4 separate regions of the Homo sapiens genome follow, and all the other regions are linked to region 4. The links are contacts of gene promoters, found by promoter capture Hi-C in blood cells and fetal thymus (Javierre and others, 2016). All regions are on one chromosome and are shown on one strand. Each heading gives the region's core, a stretch centred on a gene start or on the middle of the fragment in contact. The rest is flanking DNA. Distances are from core to core; before and after follow the strand shown. Region 1 overlaps ABCA13 (ATP binding cassette subfamily A member 13). Region 2 overlaps TNS3 (tensin 3). Region 3 overlaps ABCA13 (ATP binding cassette subfamily A member 13). Region 4 holds the start of PKD1L1 (polycystin 1 like 1, transient receptor potential channel interacting).

Region 1 (2,700 bases), core at 30-2,529, 340 kb before region 4:
AAAGTGATACAAATTCCTAAACATTTCTTAAATCATCAAGATGAACATTCAGATGATGAGGGTAAAGCTGTGCCTTTTGAGTTCCAAATGTAATAAAATAAAGATTTTGCTTTTCTGGGCCTAATTGATTTTGTAAATATTAATTATCTCTACCTCCTCAAACTGGCTCCTTTCCCTGTATCCCCTACAAGTGGGGTACCCATTCACCCCAGTTTGCCCAGGACAGACTTGCTTTTCACCTATTCTTGCATGGTTATGAACAGTGCCCTCTGTCATTCTCAAAAGTGCCCCAGTTTGAAGGATGAATTACACACTGTCTATGTGTGGTCTTCTCCATGCCCCATGCCTCACAAGTCACTTCCTGGAAGCCAGTCATGACTCTCCTCCCCCTGGTCCTCACAGCCAACCAACCTCCCCATCTGCTCAGCATGACCTCCCAATGTCTCTCCATCTGTGCGTCTGTCCAGCACCCATAGATCACGCCCAGGAAACTGCTGTGCTCTTAACAGTCCCACTCCCACCTCACCCTTCCAATCTGCCTTACGCTCTGATCCACAAGGCTCTTCCCCAAAGGAGATCCCCCATTACAGGAATCTGTGCAAAGGCTCCATGTTGCATCCAATGTCTTTCCGCAGCCTCAGGTGCCTCCACCTCTCTGCAGTCATGCCCTATGTCCCTCCTGTCTCCTCAAGGCCATCAGATACAAGGCATCACTCTCCCTTCCTGAACCTACGTATCTTTTAGAGTTCTGCCTCCAGACACCCACCTTTCCCAGGCTGAGCAAAGCCCCTCCCCTCCCTGCTGCGCAGATGCCTGTGTGCTCACCTCCCACCGCACGATAAATCCATCTGCACAAGACCTGCCACGGGCAAATTTTCTTATCACTGCCTTCCTGTCATTGTGGCACCTAGCACAGGGCTTTGTACCTCCTAGATGCTTGGTCATGACAGAAAATAAAATACATTTTTATAAGAAATAAAATCTTTTTTTAATTAGAAAAAAAAATGTTATCCTGACTCTTAAATTATGAATAATAAATTGTTTCTCAAAAGTCCTTTATAAAAAGTTCTGAGCCAGGCACGGTGGCTCACGCCTGTAATCCCAGCACTTTGGGAGGCCGTGTTGGGCAGATCACGAGGTCAGGAGATCGAGACCATCCTGGCCAATGTGGTAAAACCCCGTCTCTACTAAAAATACAAAAATTAACCGGGCATGGTGGCGGGCACCTGTAATCCCAGCTACTCAGGAGGCTGAGGCATGAGAATTGCTTGAACCCAGGAGGTAGAGGTTGCAATGAGCTGAGGTCGCACCACTGCACTCCAGCCTGGGCGACAGAGCGAGACTCTGTCTGAAAAAAGGAAGGAAGGAAGGAAGGAAGGAAGGAAGGGAAAAAACAGTTCCAGCATATTACTAAGTGAAAGAAGCCCATCTGAAAAGGCTACATATTGTATGATTTCAACTCAATGACGTGCTGGAAAAGACAAAAACTATGGAGACAGTAAAAAGATCCGTGGTTGCTAGGGGCTAGAGGGGTGGGAGAGATGAATGGGCAGAGCACAGAGGATTTTTCAGGCAGTAAAACCCTGTGTGTGATACTGTAACACTGGATGTATGTCATTATATGCTTGTCCTAACCCATAGAATGACAACACCAAGAGTGAAGCCCAATGTGAACTGTGGACTCGGAATGATGCTGTGTCAGTGTGGGTTCATCAATTGTAACAAATGTGCCACTCTGATAATGAGGGAGGCTATGGTGGGGAAGGGAGTATATGGGAAATCCCTGCACCTTCCATTCAAGGTTGCTGCGAATCTAAAACTACTCTAAAATATAAAATTTATTAATTACTAAAACAGTTTTCAACCACATAAAATGCAGAGTAGACACAATATATCCAAAGTCATGCTTTCCAGAAGCAACCCACCTTGATGCCTTATTTGTTTTTCTTTTCTCATTAATCTTATTTTACTAATTTCAAAGACAGGTATCTTTATTGTAGGAAATATAAAATGTGTCACTTAAGTAATCTCTTATTAAAATTTGAAATGAAGGTAATAATGTGCTGTTATATATCACAGCACTTATCTTTAAGCATAAACATATCCTCTGGTCTCGGGAAGACACAATAATGTGTTTATAAGTTATGTTGTTCAAACCTAAAAGAGCAGAGAATGCACCCTGAAAAAGCTGATGTAATGTATGGCATCAGGCAAGCTGTGGGCTGTGTCAGCCCCTTGCTTCCTCAATGTAAAATGACAACGTGGAGTCGACAGTGACCAAGCCCAGCATTCCTGCAAGGTTAGGTCAGGGATGATATGATCATGGGATGCAGTGCTGGGCTGTCAGGCCATCTGGCCTCCATGTGCCTCACATCTAACACGTCTTGAAGCCTGCCCTCAAAGGCACCACCCTCAAGGACACTTGACAACTGTCTCGACACTAACAAGAGCTGGTTTTGAGCCTTGACTCCTCCAACTTTCCCGGGTACCCTCTTTCTCCACCTCTCATTGCCTCTCCCAATCCCTGGCTCCAGCCCTTCCTACTTGCTGTGGCCCCTCTTCTTGGCTCCAAGGACACATTCAGACCCACTCTGGCTTTCCAGATCTGCCAGCGCTCTCTGGACCCCTTTCCTCTCCTCCCTTCAGCCCCATGGACCCTCTCAGGTCTCTTCAACTGGAAATGGGCTCTGACTGCTTCAC
Region 2 (2,700 bases), core at 99-2,598, 490 kb after region 4:
GGCGGCCTCTGGGGTTTGGGTGACCTGACGTTTATGATTTCCTTCCACCTGAGAAACTCACATTCTCTGATGCCTTTCTTCTTTCCATCCCGGGCAGATGACTATTGGCTTCTGTCGTACGTGCTCCAGAAAATATTCTGATGCCAGAGTCCTCAGTGTGTTTGCCTAGAAAATGCTGTAAGCTTCTCAAGGCAAGGCATTGCCAAATCAATAGAGGTCCTCAGGTAGGGAACATAAATCTGGAAAAGAAGTGCACGTCTTTAGAAGAAGGCATCTGCAGCCTGAACTTGCCACCCTGGAGCTTCCTTGTCAGGAGGAAGGATTCCTCTAAGGCTTTGCTTTCTGTAGCAGCATGAGGCATCCTAGGGATGAAGAAGTAGAGTCAGGTAGATAAAAATTACGGGTGGACTAGGCTGTGATTACGGCCCTTTTAATAATGTTAGAGTAACAGGTGTATTAAGTGGGGGCATTAGAATTAGAAACTGGCAAGTTTCTAGCAATTTTAAATCTACAAATTTGAAGATTAAATTATAGTTGATTTTCATTACTTGTGGATTCCATATTTGCAAATTAGCCTCCTGGATACAATTTATTTGTAACACCAAAATCAATACCAAGGACAATTTTGTGGTCATTTGAAGACATGAACAAAAAGACTCAAAATTCGGGTTGCCCACCTGCATGTTCCCGTCTGACACTGAACAAAGCAAAGCTCTTCCTTGTTTCAACTCATACTGCAGACAGGCATCCTTTCCACAGTCTATTTAGTGCCACATTTCCCCCATTTTTGTGCTTCTGTTGTTGATTATGCTGTTTAAAATGCAAGTGTAGTGCTGATGTGATGTCCAGTGTCCCTAAGCACAAGATGACTGTCCTGTGCCTGGTGGAGAAAGCGCATGTGTTAGACAGTCCTTCCTTCAGGTGTGAGTTACAGCACCAATGGCTGAGAGTTTCATGTTAATGAATCCACAGTATTTATTAAATTAGGGTCTCTCTTTGTCACCCAGGCCGGAGTGCTGTGGCATGATCTCGGTTCACTGCAACCTCTGCCTCCTGGGTTCAAGTGATTCTCATGCCCCAGCCTCCTGAGTAACTGGGATTACAGGCATGCACAACCACTCCCGACAATTTGTACATTTTTAGTAGAGATGGGGTTTCACCACATTGGCCAGGCTGGTCTCGAACTCCTGACCTCAGGTGATCCACCTGCCTAGGCCTCTCAAAGTGCTGAGATTACAGGTGTGAGCCACTGCACCCGGCCAAGGTTATGCCTTGAAGCGGTTGGTGAAAATGCTGTGACTAGAGCTCGCAGGACCCTAACCCTGTATTTCTCCTAGAGACGGAAGCTCAGTGTTGGTCAAATCAGTGTTTGCAGCAACTTTATAGAACACAACTACTGCCAATAACGAAAATCAACTGTAATTGATTAGGCATTGATTAGGGTCCATTGTAGGACAGCCTCATTGTCAGGTTTTCACTTAATGATTCTTTCCCTGAGCTTTACTATCTGAGAGAACAGATCCCAGCCCACTTTCTGGCTGCCTTCTGTGAACCTATGATAGGCAATTTGCTTACAAACCGGAGAGGCAGGGAGAAGAGAGGCACAGCGGGGAGGAATCAGGGCAGAGGGCTAACTAGTCTTGGCTGTGGAGTTCTAGGGAGGTAGAAAAGTCGATGGTCCCTCGTGGTGGAGTGAAAGCTAAGACAGACCTGGCCTGTGTCCTAGCACTCCCCTTGCTGCAAATGGCCTCAGGTGGGCAAGCCTGGTCCTGGGTTTGAACTAGATGAAGTGACAGCCTGACAATGGGGCTGTCTTACTATGGAACCCTAGTCAATACCTAATCAATTACAGTAGATTCTCATTATTGGTGGTAGTCATGTTCGATAAAGTTGCTGCAAACACTGATTTAGCCAACACTGAGCTTCTGTCTCTAGGAGAAATAAAGGGTTAGGGTCCTGCGAGCTCTAGTCACAGTGTTTTCACGAACTGATCAACACATAACCTCGGCCAGGCGCAGTGGCTTATGCCTGTTTGAAAGTGGGGATGATAAGGGTTCCTTGCTCAGCAGGCTGCTACAAGGATGGAGAGAGAATACAAGCAAATCATGTTGCATTATGTCAGGAATAGAGTGGATGTGGAATAACTTGCTGTGACAATGATCGTTACTGGTATTAATACAGGGGCAACGAGGAGGGTCATTGCTGCTTGCATGTCACTTACTATGCATTTGGCTTCACATCCAGGCAGAATCTGTCATTTAAAGGGATCAGAATTTATAAGTGATTATTGAACTGAAGTATCAGTTAACTTGCGGAATCCTGAACCTTTCATTTAGGATTCCATTGTGTCTGAAAACCGGTAAAAGTAGCCACCTGTCTTTGACGTACCATCCCACCCTGTCTTTGAGTTCTCTCCAGGGTCTGGGGTTCCCTGTCCTGTTTTTACATAGTGTACATCTACAATGAGTCATTGAAATTTCCCATTTGGGGTTCCTCAGAGTGTAAGAAAGCTTAAAGATACTTAGGAATAATTGGAGCATAGAAATCCTCTGGACTCTGCCCCAGCTGCCCTACAGAAATTTGATGAGTTTTACTGACTGCCTCACGCAAGGCTCTCAAAAACTTCAGTGTTTGCAGCAGTAACAAATCCTTTTTTGCTCACATTTCATTGATTTCTGCAGTATTTTATTAAGCTCTGCA
Region 3 (2,700 bases), core at 38-2,537, 290 kb before region 4:
TATAAGGAGATGGGGCCCTGGGGAGCTGGTCAGATCATGAGGGTGAACACTTGTGAATGGGATTAGCACCCTGATAAAAGAGACCCAGGGAGTTCCCTTACCCCTTCTACCACGTGAGGACACACCAAGATAAATTTCTGTTGTTTACAAGTCTGTGGTCTTTTGTTATAACAGCCTGAATTGACTAAACAATGACAATAGTCAGAAAGCTTAATTTTAGTCCCATGTGTTCACTTTTAGGTTCCTTTTGGATCAGGATTTAAAATATTAACCTGTGACTGTCAAAGCACAGGGTCCCTGATGTTTTGTTCTATTTTTTTCCCTTAATTAAAAATAATCAACAATACCATGTATCATGTTAGATAGATAAGGCCAAGTCCCCACTCAGATGCTCACAGCCTATGAGAGGCAGATATGCAGCCATCAGGCTCCCTGGGACATGCCCTATTATAGAAGGTTGAAGAAGTAGAGGCAGAGGCTGAAGTGAGGTCACAGGAGATCCACAGAGGATGTGAGGTTAGATAAATCATTTTCCAATTCAGGAGGCAGAGGCAGGGAAAGAGGAGGACTATTCTCTTGCAGGGGCAGCATGTGCTGAGGCCCCCAGCAGGCCCAGAGAGTGACAGGGTCAGGAGTCAGACAGACCCCAGGGAGGGCCTAGGCTCACAGGCTGATGCAGATGGAAAGGGCCCTGTGAAACCACCTTTGCAGATTATGAGAGTGAGAGAAGTCTAGCATGGCTGACTCCACCTTGCTTCTAGCCTCAGAGGCTGGCTGTCCTTGCTCACTCCTGGGCATATACCAAGCTAACCATGGGAGGAATTTAGTTTGTAGTTTAACTTTTTAGCAAGGTTGATAGTAGTCCCTCCCTAAGATGAATCCCCTCATTTCTCAGGTACAGAACCTGCCCTTGTAAGACTAATAAAAGGCCACAAGATTAAGATTATGAGAGTGGCTTGAATGCTGCTAAAATGTAGGTGTAGCTAAATGATAATCAGCCACTGGTCCCTAGCTTGCCTTCTATAATCCCTTGCTGCTCAGGAGTCATGGGGCCAAAGATCACAAGATATGTGACTTCCTCAATTGCTCCTATAGATAACATCACTATTGTCAAACCCAAGATTGGTCTCTTGAGACGTTTTTCAGACTTTTGCATTTTTCCACATCCTTGTGATTTCATCCCCAACCAATCGGCGAAACTCATTTCCTAGTCCCCTGCCCACCAAATTATCCAAAAAAAAAAAAAAAAAAAAAACCCTACCCTCTGAGTTCTCAAGGAGGCTGATTTGAGTAATAACTCCAGTTTTTTCCCTTGGCTAGCTCTGCATTAATTAAACCCTTTCTCTACTGCAATACTGCAGTCTCAATGAATTGGTTTTGTCTGTGCAGTGGGCAGGAAGAGCTCACCAGGCAATTACACTTACGAAGGGTGGGAAGCAGGCAATGTTCCCCCAAGATGTCCATGTCCCAATCCCAAGAGCCCATGAATATGTTATGTTGTATGGCAAGTGAGATTTAAGGCTGCAGATGAAATTAAGGCTACTTATCACCTGGCTTTGAGATGGGCGATTATCCTGGGTAACCTGGTGAGCCCAGTGTAACCACAAGGGTTTTTATTGGAGAAAGGAGGCAAAAATGTCAGTGCCCAAGTGATGGGATATGAGAAGAACTAGACCTGCCATTGCTGGCTTTGATGATTGAGAAAGAGGCTCAGACCCAAGGAATGTGGATGGCCACTGGAAGCTGGAAAAAGCAAGAAAACAGAATACGCCACCCCAAAGTATGTTTCTTTGGCATATGGATTATTTTGAGCTAAAGACAAACTGAAAACCAGCAGAGGCAGGAAAAACTTCTTACCGTTCCCTAACTGTTTAAAAATAGAGTATAAATTTCCTTTTGGTAAAGGAAATTTAGATTTATAAAGAAAATTTACATTATTAAGATAATTTTCATCTGTAAAGATGTCTCCTACCAAAAAGAGAGCTGCTTCTCCAAATAACTCTGATCACCTGGGAGATTTCTCTGCAAAACAGGATAACTCATTCACCATATATTTCCTCCCCTCACCTTCCCATAACTTGCCTTGCTACTCAGAAACCCCAAGCCCCCTTTCCTTTGTATAGATAGCCTTGGATGGCATATAAGCCTTAATAATCTGGCTGCTTCCTTAAAATACAGGTGATCCTTGATCTACAATGAGGTTACATCCTCATCAACCCATCATGACTTGAAAATATCATAAGCCAAGAATACATTTAGTACACCCAACCTCAAAACATAACCAAACTTAACCTAGCCTACCTGAACTGTGCTCAGAACACATACATTAGCCTACAATTGGAAAAATAATCTAACACAAAGCTTATTTTATAATAAAGTATTTATTATCTCATGTAATTTATTGAATACTATACTGAAAGTGAAAAACAGAATGGTCATCAGGGAAGATCTACACATTTCTCTTTGTGAACTCCCATACATACCTACACAATAACTGGTTTTCCTCTTCTTTATCTGTCTTTTATCAGGTTAATTCATGAGCCCCAGCCATTGAAGATGGAATAATAGAGAAAAAAAGAATTTTTCCTCCCCCACAACAGTATGTCCCCTTGACCTCAAGAAGGATTGCAGCCCTGCAGACACCTTGATTCTAGCCCAGTGAGACCATTTCAGGCATCTGACCTCCAGAACACTATGATA
Region 4 (2,700 bases), core at 73-2,572:
TCTGTGTTCCCATCTGAGAAAGAGCTTGTGCCTGAAAACGTTCCCACTCTTCTTGGTATCACTCTCTTCAGAGTGGAGAGAAAAAATATCTAGTGTTCTGAGTAAAACATTAAGTTTTCTAAAATCTCTGAAGGTTTAAATGTTGGTATAAAGAACTAAGACAACTAACAAGTGCTTTAAAAATATAAGAGAAAATGTTTCGTAATGGAGAGAACTCAGTCTGACCCGCCAGTTGCAAACAAGGAGAGGTGCAGGAGGTTCGGAACCAGATCATTCCTAGGTTCTGCCGTAAGACAGAGTGCGCCTAGTGTGTGCCTTGCCAGCCTTCCTTAGGAATGCTCTTCTGCTCTTGTGGAAGGTATCCTGTTCCCCAGTGCAGTTGTGGACAGTTACAGCTTTTTTTTTTTTTTTTTTTTTTTGAGACAGAGCCTCGCTCTGTTGCCCAGGCTGGAGTGTGGTGGCACGATCTCGGCTCACTGCAACCTCCGCCTCTCGGTTTCGAGCAATTCTCCTGCCTCAGCCTCCCGAGTAGCTGGGACTACAGGTGCGTGCCACCATGCCTGGCTAATTTTTGTATTTTTAGTAGAGACGGGGTTTCACTATGCTGGCCAGGCTGGTCTCGAGCTCCTGACCTCGTGATCCGCCCACCTCGACCTCCCAAAGTGTTGGGATTATAGGCGTGAGCCACCGCGCCCAGCCAACAGTTACAGCTTTTTATTCTCAGACTTCTCTCAGCTTCCATGTACAGTCTCTCCCTTGAGTAGTGATCTGTTTCAGGCAGCCACAAAGATCCCTACCTAAAACACACTTTTGTTTTGTTTTGTTTTGTTTCATTTTGTTTTTGAGGCAGAGTCTCACTCTATTGCACAGTGGTGCAATCTCGTCTCACTGCAACCTCCACCTCCTAGGTTCAAGCAATTCTCTCGCCTGAGCCTCCTGGGTAACTGGGATTACAGATGTGTGCCACCACACTTGGCTATTTTTGTATTTTTAGTAGAGACGGGGTTTCACCATATTGGCCAGGCTGGTCTCAAACTTCTGGCCTCAAGTGATCCACCCACCTTGGCCTCCCAAATTGCTGGGATTACAGACATGAGCCACCACGTCTGTCAAAAGCACACTTCTTAGGAAGGAATTTGTCTGACAGTGTTAGGAAAACAAAAGCTGTTTCTGCTTGGGAAAATGTTACTGGAGTTTGGATTTTTCCCTCTGTGTTTGATGTGTGTCCTGATAAGAGGTCACAAGTACAGAAGCTGGAAGCATTAAGCTCTATTTCTTTGTCTTCCAGAGGATGTAGGAAGAAGCTGGTCTGCTGACTGTCATACTTGTGACCAGCTTGCACAGGACATGGCCGAGGAGGCAGCCCAGAACATTTCTGATGACCAGGAAAGGTGAGTTATCACTGTTCTCAGAGGGTTTGGTAAGCTTGATTTTAAAGTATGCATTCAGAAATTTTCTTTCAAAAGTCATCACCTCTAGGATGTGGGCTCACTCTGGCACGAGTGGAGGCCCTGTACCAGGAGGGTGCATTTGGCCGGCGGGGTCAGTTCAGAGGTTGGAGTTGGTGTTGAGAATGGAGTTTTTTCCTGAAGGCTTTTGAGAAGACTCCTCCAAGCGGATGCCTTCAGCCATGAGAAGTGCTGATTGCTCTTCCTGCAAATGCAGGATACCTTCCAAGTTCGAGGACTTTCTGCTGCCTGGTAGTAGACAAAGTTAAGCTATCTGCTTGTCTGCTAGGTCCCTTGCATGGAGACCAGGAGAAACCTGGCACAGGAAGAGATCATGGGGTCTTGGCCCAGGGGTCTTATTTCTTTTTTTTTGAGACGGAGTCTCTCTCTGTTGCCCAGGCTCGAGTGCAGAGGTGCGATCTTGGCTCACTGCAAGCTCTGCCTCCTGGGTTCATGCCATTTATCCTGCCTCAGCCTCCCAAGTAGCTGGGACCACAGGCGCCCACCACCACGCCCGACTAATTTTTTGTATTTTTAGTAGAGACGGGGTTTCACTGTGTTAGCCAGGATGGTCTCGATCTCCTGACCTTGTGATCTGCCCGCCTTGGCCTCCCAAAGTACTGGGATTACAGGCATAAGCCACCGCACCCAGCCTCCATGGGTCTTATTTCTAAACCCTCTTCCCCATGCTCTGTGCGCGCCAGCACCCATGTGTTGTTGAGGCTGGGCAGCCTGTGTGCTCTGCTGTTGACTGTCTCATGGCAGTGTGACATGGTGCAAACCTCCATGCCCCCTTTCCTGGGCGTGAGGCCAGCAAGGTGACCTGCCTGTGGGATGTGGTAAGGACCCAGGTGGGTCACCGCTGTCCCCTGGCCTGGCATGATGGGAGCCTGTGCCTGCAGATCTTGCCCAGTGGGGTACCCCGCCACTGCAGGTCACTTTACCTCCTCACCCCCAGATTTCTCATCCTGAAAATCTGAGTACCCCTGTTGTCACATCTGTAAACTCCAGAGGGTCGTTATAAAAATCAGTATCCTTGATGAATGCTTGCTGTCAGCATTTCTGCCTTTGTTAGCTTACTGTCTTTGTGCCATCACCATCATTTTATCAAAGAAACCCAAAGCAAACCAGGATGAGAAAATGAGGCTGCACGTGTTGACGGGGTTGGTCACATTCATGCTTGGAAATTTCTTTGCCTTATGTCACTCACTGCTGCCAAGCATTGTCTGATTTTGGCTACAATTTTTTCCCT

The links. Contacts are between HindIII fragments. The CHiCAGO score rates a contact against its expected background, and 5 or more counts as called.
Region 1: a contact is called between a fragment that was not itself captured here and the fragment with the promoter of PKD1L1 in region 4, in 1 of 17 cell types (neutrophils). The highest score is 5.0, in neutrophils.
Region 2: a contact is called between a fragment that was not itself captured here and the fragment with the promoter of PKD1L1 in region 4, in 1 of 17 cell types (total B cells). The highest score is 8.0, in total B cells.
Region 3: a contact is called between a fragment that was not itself captured here and the fragment with the promoter of PKD1L1 in region 4, in 1 of 17 cell types (activated CD4 T cells). The highest score is 6.9, in activated CD4 T cells.

The regions. Positions count from the first base shown.
Region 1 is chr7:48,285,174-48,287,873 of GRCh38, reverse strand. The region is part of intron 19 of ABCA13 (ATP binding cassette subfamily A member 13); the gene reads right to left. Among named protein-coding and RNA genes, the nearest start is that of ABCA13, 120 kb to the right of the region's middle. The HindIII fragment of the contact is 4,638 bases long and covers 1-2,700 here.
Region 2 is chr7:47,461,724-47,464,423 of GRCh38, reverse strand. The region is part of intron 4 of TNS3 (tensin 3); the gene reads left to right. Among named protein-coding and RNA genes, the nearest start is that of SNORD151, 1.7 kb to the left of the region's middle. The HindIII fragment of the contact is 2,328 bases long and covers 185-2,512 here.
Region 3 is chr7:48,235,568-48,238,267 of GRCh38, reverse strand. All of the region lies in intron 8 of ABCA13 (ATP binding cassette subfamily A member 13), which reads right to left. Among named protein-coding and RNA genes, the nearest start is that of ABCA13, 65 kb to the right of the region's middle. The HindIII fragment of the contact is 2,152 bases long and covers 212-2,363 here.
Region 4 is chr7:47,947,088-47,949,787 of GRCh38, reverse strand. PKD1L1 (polycystin 1 like 1, transient receptor potential channel interacting) reads left to right here and starts at 1,322. Exons shown (of 57, transcript NM_138295.5): 1 at 1,322-1,391. The coding sequence starts at 1,348. The HindIII fragment of the contact is 5,981 bases long and covers 1-1,427 here.